2 separate regions of the Homo sapiens genome follow, and region 1 is linked to region 2. The links are contacts of gene promoters, found by promoter capture Hi-C in blood cells and fetal thymus (Javierre and others, 2016). All regions are on one chromosome and are shown on one strand. The core of a region is centred on a gene start or on the middle of the fragment in contact, and the rest is flanking DNA. Distances in the headings are between cores, read along the strand shown.

Region 1 (4,485 bases), core at 349-2,848, 180 kb before region 2:
ACCAAGGCACCGAACACACTTGCCTGAGTGGCACTGGATTAGGAAGCAGTGGGCTCACAGCCAGCTGTTACTGTGGACCCCCCAAATTTGTTTGATCACCACTCTTCTTAGTCACGAAATCCCACCCTCCTTTCCCAGGCCTGATCCTGCCGACAGAGCCCTGAACTGGCTCAGGTCCTGGCTTCTGGTCCTACCTCTGGAGTTGACTCTGGGGGTTTTGGCCAATCCTTTTTCTTCTTGGTACCTCCATATTCCCACCTGTATTGTGTGGCTACAAATATTTGCTTAGGATCATTTTAGCAGCTGTGAAGTGTCCTGGGAACTCTGAATGAAAGGCGCTCTATTCCAGCTTATGCACCAAGTGATGACTCTGGCCCTGTCCACACGGCAGGGCTCTGCAGGAGACAGACGACCCATTCATCCTTCATACAGTCCTAATTTTATTCCAGTGCCCCACTGGGGACTCAGGCAGCAGGGCTTGTCAGAGAACTGAGCAGTCTTCACACTTTCAAAGTCCCTTCTATTTGGTAGGGTTGCTTTTTTTCCTTTCCTTTTTTTCTTTTTTTTAACCACTGCATATTAGCAAAGGTAAAATCTACCATGCAAGAAAAGGAACAATCATGAAAGGAGAAAGGCCTTCTCAAGGGAGGGCTGCTTATTAGTCCTTTGGAAGGTCAAGAAGGCCGTTTGCCTGAGGCCAGGATTTATACTGTTAGCATGCTAGGCACATCTGGGGCCCACCCTGCGTACATATCAGGGTGCCATGTTTACATGTATTTTTACATATGTGTCTTGTTTTAGGGTGCCCACGGTGCAAGAGAGCGGAGCTGAGAATCAATAGGATAATATGTCCAGGGCCTGCTAGTGATGAATGTGGGTGTTTTGGCCCATTTGGGCTGCCACAACAAAGTACCCCATAGACTGGGTGACATGCAAACAACAGAAGTTTATTTCTCCCAGTTCTGGAGCCTGGAAGTCCAAGATCAAAGTGTCAGCATGGTCGGGTTCTGTTGAGGGCCCTTTCCAGATTGCACACTGCAGACTTCTTGTATCCTCATGTGGTGGAGTGAGGGCGAGAGAGCTATCTGGGGTTCTGTTGATAAGAGCACCAATCCTATTCCTGAGAACTCCACCCTCATTACCTCCCAATGGCTTTACCTCCTAATCCTAACACATAGTAGATTAGGGTTTCAACATATGAATTTTGGAAGGACACTAACATTCAGTCCATTGCACTGAGTATTTTTGCTTCTTCAAAATCACTCCACTGTTGCAACCTATAATTGTGCATCTGTCTTGAGGCTACAATAGCATGTCTTAGAGCTGGAATCTCCAGCTTCCCGGAATCCTGGGCCCCTCTACCGACCTCTCTAACCCTTCCCCTGTAGGAGCACTTACTTACAGAACATTGAGTCTCTGCTCACTCTCTCCTGAATCCATTTCTGCTCCTTCTTCTTTGAACTCCTCACTAACCCCAGGGCCCAGGCATCCCATCCAGATATCATCCCCAGTTGCAGATATCTGAGAAACTTTGCAGTCACTCTCTCCTTCAAGGCTCAAGTCTTCACTCCCAATAGGTCTTCAATCACCATGGTTTCCAATCTCACTCTTATTCTGAGTATGCAGAGCATGGCTTCCCATTGCTTTCAAAGGGAAGGGCAAATGTCTTATGCAAATTTACTGTATTAGTTTGTTCTCATGCTGCTAAGAAAGACATATCTGAGACTGGGTAATTTATAAGGGAAAAGAGGTTTAATGGACTCACAGTTCTACATGGGTGGGAGGCCTCACAATCATGGCAGAAGGAGAAGGAGAAGCAAAGGTATGTCTTACATGGTGGCAGGCAAGAGAGAAGTGCCGAGCAAAAGGGGGGAAAACCCCTTATAAAACTTATAAAACCATCAGATCTCGTGAAAACTCGCTCACTGTCATGAGAACAGCAGCATGGGGTAATCACCCCCATGATTCAATTATCTCCCACTGGGTCCCTCCCACAACAGTGGGAATTATGGGAACTACAATTCAAGATGAGATTTGGGTGGGGACACAGCCAAACCATATCACTTACCAAGGCCTTACATGATCTAGTCTGTGTCTTCCTGTTTGACTTAATTTTTCCTCTTATTCACCTCTTTGCTCATCAAATCCAGCCACATGATTCTTTTTCCCATCCTTCAGACTCATCCAGGTTCATTCCCACTTTAGAGTTTTGTACTTGTGCTGGTCTCTCTACCCAGTATACTCTGCCCACCAACATTGGCATGCTGGCTTCTTCTTGTCATTCAGATCTCTGTTTAAACATCATATTCCCAGAGCTAATTCCTTGAGCATTTTGTCTAAAATAGCCCTTCCCTCTCAGTCACTTACATCTTATAAAGCTAATTGTCTTCAGACATTTAAGATCATTGACAATGACTGATGCTATATGTGCTATCTCTTTTCCTCCAATAGTAGAATATGGATTCTATGAGTAGAAACCTTGTCTGACATTTTCCCTGCTATATCCCTAACACCATGGAATGTATATGGCACTTGACGGTTGCTCTATAAATACTTGTTGGATGACTCAATGAGTGAACAAACTAGAAATATTTGTTATGGACTATAAGAGGTTGACAGTGAACTTCACCTTGCAAACCTCATAGTCTTTAGTATTGGCACTAGAAGTCTCATCTTGATCCCATGCTCAACTGGTAGAAGGTCATAGTGTTGGGTCTGGGCTGGGTTGCAGTGTCCCACTCACCTAGGCTTTGTGGAGCTTAGCTGTGGCTAGTAGAACAAGGTACCAAGGGTCAGCCAAGAAGCAATCTCCAAACTTATCAGAAAGTCCAACCTGGCCACTACTTCTTGTAGGATAGGCAAAGTGGGAAGACCTTGGTATGAAGCATAGGATATAAACTGGGGAAGCCAAACCAGAGTTCAAGTCTGGAGGAATTCCCAGAGCTATGGGAACGTGACTGTAGAAGGCCCCTATAGTTTTGGGTGAGCTGGTGAAGGAGCAGTTAGACTTACTTGGTTTAGGCACACAATGATCTTCAGTCCTTCTCTTGAAGGCATGAGCTGGCTGCAGTTGCACTTTGCCCTACTGGAAAGGATCTGATGCCAGAGACTGACAATGGGTCAAGGGCTTGGTGGAGAGTATTCACTGCTGATTAAGTCTTTCTTGATACTGAATAGAGAGTAGATTTAGTGGAGGGGAAGGGAAGACCACAGGAAGACCACCAAAGAGATTATTCTACAGTCCAGTAAAGAGAGGACAAGAGCCAGTGATGGCAGAAGGGAGGAAGAGAAAGAGATTCATGCAAGAGAATTACTCATGCAAAATGTGCAAAATTTAAATTCAATCAGATTAGACCAATGGAAAAAGAAAAAGAAGGATGCCATGAAGACTAGGAGGATCTGAGCTTGCTCAGCATTGTAGAGGGTGTTACGGGCATTGATTAAGTTAAAGACAGCAAGGGAGAGGCGTGTGAGGGCAGAGAAATGTGCTTTACCTCTGGGCAGGCTGATGTGACAAGCTCATTGAGCCTCCAGAGAGATTTTTTCCAAAAGTAGCTGGAAATATAGGCCTACAGCACAAAAGCCCTAGGAGCCAGGTGAACGCCTGGAAGAATAGAAGAAATTATATTATTTAAAGTAAAATGGGCCAGGCGTGGTGGCTTATGCCTGTAATCCCAGCACTTTGGGAAGCCAAGGTGGGCGGATCACTTGAGATCAGGAGTTCAAGACCAGCCTGGACAACATGGGGAGACCCGTATCTCTACTAAAAATACAAAAATTAGCCGGGTGTGGCGTGCCTGTAATCCCAGCTACTCCAGAGGCCAAGGCAGCAGAATCACTTGAACTAGGGAGGTGGCGGTTGCAGTGAGCCAAGATGGTACCACTGCACTCCAGTGTGAGCAACAGAGCGAGACTCTGTCTCTAAACAAAACAAAATAAAACAAGCAAACAAACAAACAAAGTAAAATGGGGCTTTTGAAAGTGACCGAGAATTCTAGTAGAGGGAGGGGAAGCCAGGAGGACATTTTTATCTTGAATAAAAAGTAATGCTGATGGAGGGAAAGCTTGAAGCTGGAGGATGGTTTCTTATTCAAACGCAGTTTGGGATTGAATTACTTAAAATGTATCATGTGATTTCAGAAATCAGCTGTCTTTTTGCTTTACAAAGAGAACTCAGGAGTGTCTTTAGAGTCAGAAGCCTAGGAACCAAAACCCCAAAGGGGCCAGACCAGGAAAACCTAGCTCTCCCCAGTACAAAGGGGAAAGCGCTCCCGTTCACTGCTGCTTTCTGCACCACAACCGCTTGTGAAGAGCACTTTGTGCGAGTAATTCTGAAAACGTCACACTAAAAAAAGAATTACATGTTATTAATCATAAAAGCGAAAGCAAAAACAAACGAAGGTTTCTCCTTGCCTTCGAATGAAGACAACCAAAAGCATCAGAGGTGAAAACAAGACAGACACGACATGAAGATTGAAAACCAGA
Region 2 (4,556 bases), core at 1,607-4,106:
TTCACTTGTTTATCTGCTGACCTTCCCTCCACTATTGTCCTATGACCCTGCCAAATCCCCCTCTGTGAGAAACACCCAAGAATTATCAATAAAAAATAAATAAATTAAAAAAATAAATAAATAAATTAAAAAAAAAGAAAAAGAACAGTTTATGGAAGAATAATAATTTACTATGCTTAGCCACTGCTGTTTTCTGGTTTCATTTTTTTTTTTTTTTTTGGTTGGGGGAGGAGGGTTGTTAAATAAAATTAAAGCTGTAACCCAATGCCAGATATAATAGAAAGAACTTGGTGTGCATTGACTGATGCAGTAAGCATTGAAATTTTCCATTTTCACTTTCTCTCTTTGTTGCCATAAAATGAGAGGGTGAGGCAAGATCGTGTCTGAGGGTGGGTCCAGCTCTCAGGCTCTGGAGCTCTGCACTGCTGGGTCTCCTGGTAAAGCCCTCCTCTGAGCTTGCATCTCAGCTCTATCCTGATGGCAAAGACTGTGCTCTTTTCAAACTCATAGATGACACCCTCCTACCTACTAAGGCTGTGGTGTACCACAACTAAGTTTAACCCCTCTCTCCTGGTCTGAAAAAGTCATCTAAACCACAGGGGAAATTATTGACCATGGTTTCCTAGATCTATGCAAGAAAAATGCTCCCAAACCCTAATGCTACAAAGCTGTATTTACTTGTCCCAACTCTTTCCCGGTGTGGTTCGGATTACCCTTTGCCTGCATATGTTTTGCAATACCTCTTGGCTCTTCATCTTTGCCCACTCCTCCAGCATGCTCACTACACCTGAGAAACTTAGCCAGTACTTGGCTTAAAAATCTTCAACCTACTCATCACCTAACAAGAGAGGGTTTAAAGTTGGCAGAGGGAATATTGCACAGAAACGCTATTTGCCAACCACCTACCAATAGCTGACTTCACAAGTGGTCCCTTATCAGATCTGCCCATCAGAAAAGAAGGAAGAAGATTAATGATCATTCTTCAGACACCAGGACTCCCTCCGGGGAAGCTCTCTATAGAGCTAAAGGCTTGTATTGGATTATTGTCACCGATCACTGTTTTAGGCTTGCATTCCTAGTAAAATTGAAGCTGAGCCTGTATCCCTTACAGTAGAAACTCCCAAATGCCATATTCAACATAATGAGTTTTCAGAAAGCTAAATATATCCAATGGGAAAGACTGGCCATTACATCCTTCCTGCATTTCGTTGTTATTGCTATTAAAGTGTACTTTAAAAAATAAAAATAAAAGGATAGTAATAGAAGACAGCAGGGTTTATTTTCATGTCTTTCTTGGCAGTTTAAAAAGTTGGCAATCCTATATCAATTTCTAATTTTTTTCTAAAACTCTACTGGTCATTAAAATTAGAAAACTGGTAGCCTCATGCCTAAAGTGGCTAGTTCAGATCAAGTTACATGTAAACTGAAGAAAGGAAGAGCCTCTGATTCAAACTCTTTAAGGTCATCATTTTTTTCTTTTTCTAAGACCATTTTCTATAGATCTCAAGGTGCATAATATGCATCGCGGAGGCCCTGTAGATTTAGATAGCGATTATAACCGATTCAAGTCAGGAAATTTCTTCTGAAGTATACCTACCTGTGAAACCCTCCATATCTGGGGCGCTCTGTGCCACGGGTGTCAGACTTTTGCAAAAGCCCTGTCATTCTAACGGGACGCCCTCCTGTAGGAAGTTGCCCCCTGGCGCCCGTCCTCCGGCTTCTGATGAAACGGCGACCCACCACCCCCTTCCCAGACCCTGGCCCGCAGCCGGATCACTCCGGGCGCGCTGCCGATCACGTGGCGAAGCGGTGCTCCCCAGCGCCGTGGCTGCGCGCCCATTGGTCGGCGGCTGGAGTCCCGGGCGCGCCCATTGGCTGCGGGGGGCGTTCACGTGGCAGGGGGCCTGGGATGGACCCCGGGGTCCCGAGAGCTGGCAGGAAAGTTAAAGGGGGCAGCGCGGCCGCGGGGAGCTCGAGTCCCGGGTGACTGCTGGAGGGAGGAGGTGACCGCGCAGCTCTCGTGCACGGACGGACTTCGCCGCCCGCGGGGGGCGCGAACCCGAGCCCGGGCCCAGCTCCTGCCGTCACGGCAGCTGTCCCTGTTCCCCCAGGGCGTATGCTGCCGCGGGCTGGCGCGTCTGCCCTCGGGACTTATGAGCTGAACCCGGTACGTAGCTCCCCAAGTCTCGAGTCCGAGGGAAGGGCTGGGGACAACAAGGCGAGGGCGTGCAGCGGGGACCTCTTTGGGTTCCTGTCACCTACATTTTCACCGTGCGACTTGCACTGGCACACCGGGGCTGGAACACTCTAGGTAGCTGGCCCCAGGGAGCTGTTGCTTCAGCGTGGAGAGGGCGATCCAGGGACCGCAGCTGGGAAGCGCCTCCCGGGCCCACGTGCTCCACCGCGCTGCTGGGCCCGGCTGCGACCGTGACCCGGGAGCTGCGGCTGCGGCGGCTGATCCCTTTACCACCTGTTGTTCTGGCTTCGAAACTAGCACAAGTTCCCAGCCCCGGGTCCCGAGAGGTCTGGAGACTTCTCCAAAGTTGGGTAGTGGGGTTTGGAGCTTAAGGACAAGCCGCTTCGTCTCTCTCCGGGCCTTATTTTCCCTATAAAACGCGAGGAAATACACTTGGTAGGCTCTCAGGCCACCGAGGGCGACGGGACCTAGCACGATCCCCGTCCCGGGCTGGCGGAGGCCAGGCGGCCGCGCGGGGGTGCTGGTGTCGCGCTGCTTGCTCCGGCCGGGGTTGCCCCTTTGCCGGCCCCGCCCGGGTGCGATAACGGGCTCCTCCTCCTCGTCGTCTTCCTCCCACCGCCGACATCTCCGGGAACCCAGCCCAGGCCCTGCCTCCCGGACACACCGACGCTCACGTAGTCGCGCTTGCCACAACCCTGCGGGCTCTCCGATGCGGCGAGCGAGCTGGGGAGGGGGCTTCTCCGCGGCCCAAAAGGTGGGTGCGGCGCGAGGCCAAGGAGGCTTGTAGGGAGGTTGGGGGCGGAGTGCAGCCCTGGTCAAACTGGACGGAGGGGACAGAGTCGGAGAGTAACTTGTGGGATCCTCCAGCCTGGAGAGCACTGGCCTGCTCCTGCGTCTCTTTGGAATCCAGAAAAAGGGGTGTGGAAGGCACAGTAGCTGCAAAAGAGGGAGTGGGGGCCGGTAATGACTTACTGGAAGATTTGGGGCCTGTCAGAGCACTGTTTTCTGAAAAAGAGGAGAAAACAGAGGAAAGACTGGACTTGGGAACTTGGAGACTTGGAAGGTGTTGGAACCTGTGGTCTGAGTGGCGGGGGCCTGCCTGGGAGACCCAGGGTGCAGCAGAAGAGACAATTAGAGCTTTGGTCTGGGAGGAAGAGGAGGAGAGGAGGAAATGTTTCCTTGGGCAGAGTTGTCCAGGAGCCAAAACTAAAGTGAAGACAGCTGGAGGACTTACACAAAAGTACAGTTGAGGTATTTAGGAAAAAAAGTTAGTGGGAAGAGAAGCGGCACCAGGGGTGGGTCGCAACATACAATGTCAGGGCCAGCAGGGACCTTGGAGGGGACCTCAAGCCCAGAGCAGCTGAGTGACTCGCTCAAGTAGCAAAGCAAGGTGCGGGCATTCTTAGCCTAGTACTCTGTTTTCCCTCGTACGTTTTTAGACGGCAGGGGCTGTGTCATTTGAACTTGCCTCTTTCCTAGAATATGCAACTGTATTCACAAATGTCAGTCTCCAAGATGCTTTGGATGATGGGGACAGGATCAAGGGGTACAAGGAGCCTTTAAGGCTGTGAATAGGCCCCCATGGTCTGAGTACAAAGGGGAAAGACATGCACTCTCTTCATGCTGGATCAGTGAAACCTTTTGGAAGGGAACACAGAATTGTTGGAGGGAGGTAGATGGCCATGTCTTTAAAAATGAAAATTATAACCTGGTTGTGAATGTTTACTGAATGCAGTTCGGCAGCTTTCAGTGTTCCTGGTGGGTTGCTTGTGCATCTGATTTTTTTGTTTGTTTGGTTTTGTTTGTTTGTTTTGAGACGGAGTGTCGCTCTGTCGCCCAGGCTGGAGTGCAGTGGCGCCATCTCTGGCTCATTGTAAGCTCCGCCTCCCGGGTTCACGCCATTCTCCTGCCTCGGCCTCCTGAGTAGCTGGGACTACAGGCGCCCGCCACCACGCCCAGCTAATTTTTATTTGTATTTTTAGTAGAGACGGGGTTTCACCGTGTTAGCCAGGATGGTGTCGATCTCCTGACCTCGTGATCTGCCCGCCTCGGCCTCCCAAAGTGCTGGGATTACAGGCGTGAGCCACCACGCCCGGCCTTTTTTTGCCTTTTTTTTTTTTTTTTGAGACGTAGTTTCGCTCTGTCGCCCAGGCTGGACTGCAGTGGCGCCATCTCGGCTCACTGCAAGCTCCGCCTCCCGGGTTCGCGCCATTCTCCTGCCTCGGCCTCCTGAGTAGCTGGGACTACAGGCGCCCGCCGCCACGCCCGGCTAATTTTTTTTTTTTGTATTTTTAGTAGAGACGGGGTTTCACCGTGTTCGCCAGGATGGTCTCGATCTCCTGATCTCGTGATCCGCCCG

Evidence for each region. Contacts are between HindIII fragments. The CHiCAGO score rates a contact against its expected background, and 5 or more counts as called.
Region 1: a contact is called between a fragment that was not itself captured here and the fragment with the promoter of PPP1R3B in region 2, in 1 of 17 cell types (M2 macrophages). The highest score is 5.1, in M2 macrophages.

The regions. Positions count from the first base shown.
Region 1 is chr8:9,331,523-9,336,007 of GRCh38, reverse strand. It overlaps LOC157273 (a long non-coding RNA gene), which reads right to left. Exons shown (of 3, transcript NR_040039.1): 3 at 928-3,604. Among named protein-coding and RNA genes, the nearest start is that of PPP1R3B-DT, 180 kb to the right of the region's middle. The HindIII fragment of the contact is 4,936 bases long and covers 1-4,066 here.
Region 2 is chr8:9,148,958-9,153,513 of GRCh38, reverse strand. It overlaps PPP1R3B (protein phosphatase 1 regulatory subunit 3B), which reads left to right and starts at 2,856. Exons shown (of 2, transcript NM_024607.4): 1 at 2,856-2,951. It overlaps PPP1R3B-DT (PPP1R3B divergent transcript), which reads right to left and starts at 1,789. Exons shown (of 5, transcript NR_183348.1): 1 at 1,598-1,789. RefSeq lists silencers at 1,852-2,101, 2,602-2,871 and enhancers at 2,222-2,461, 2,508-3,456. The HindIII fragment of the contact is 22,346 bases long and covers 1-4,556 here.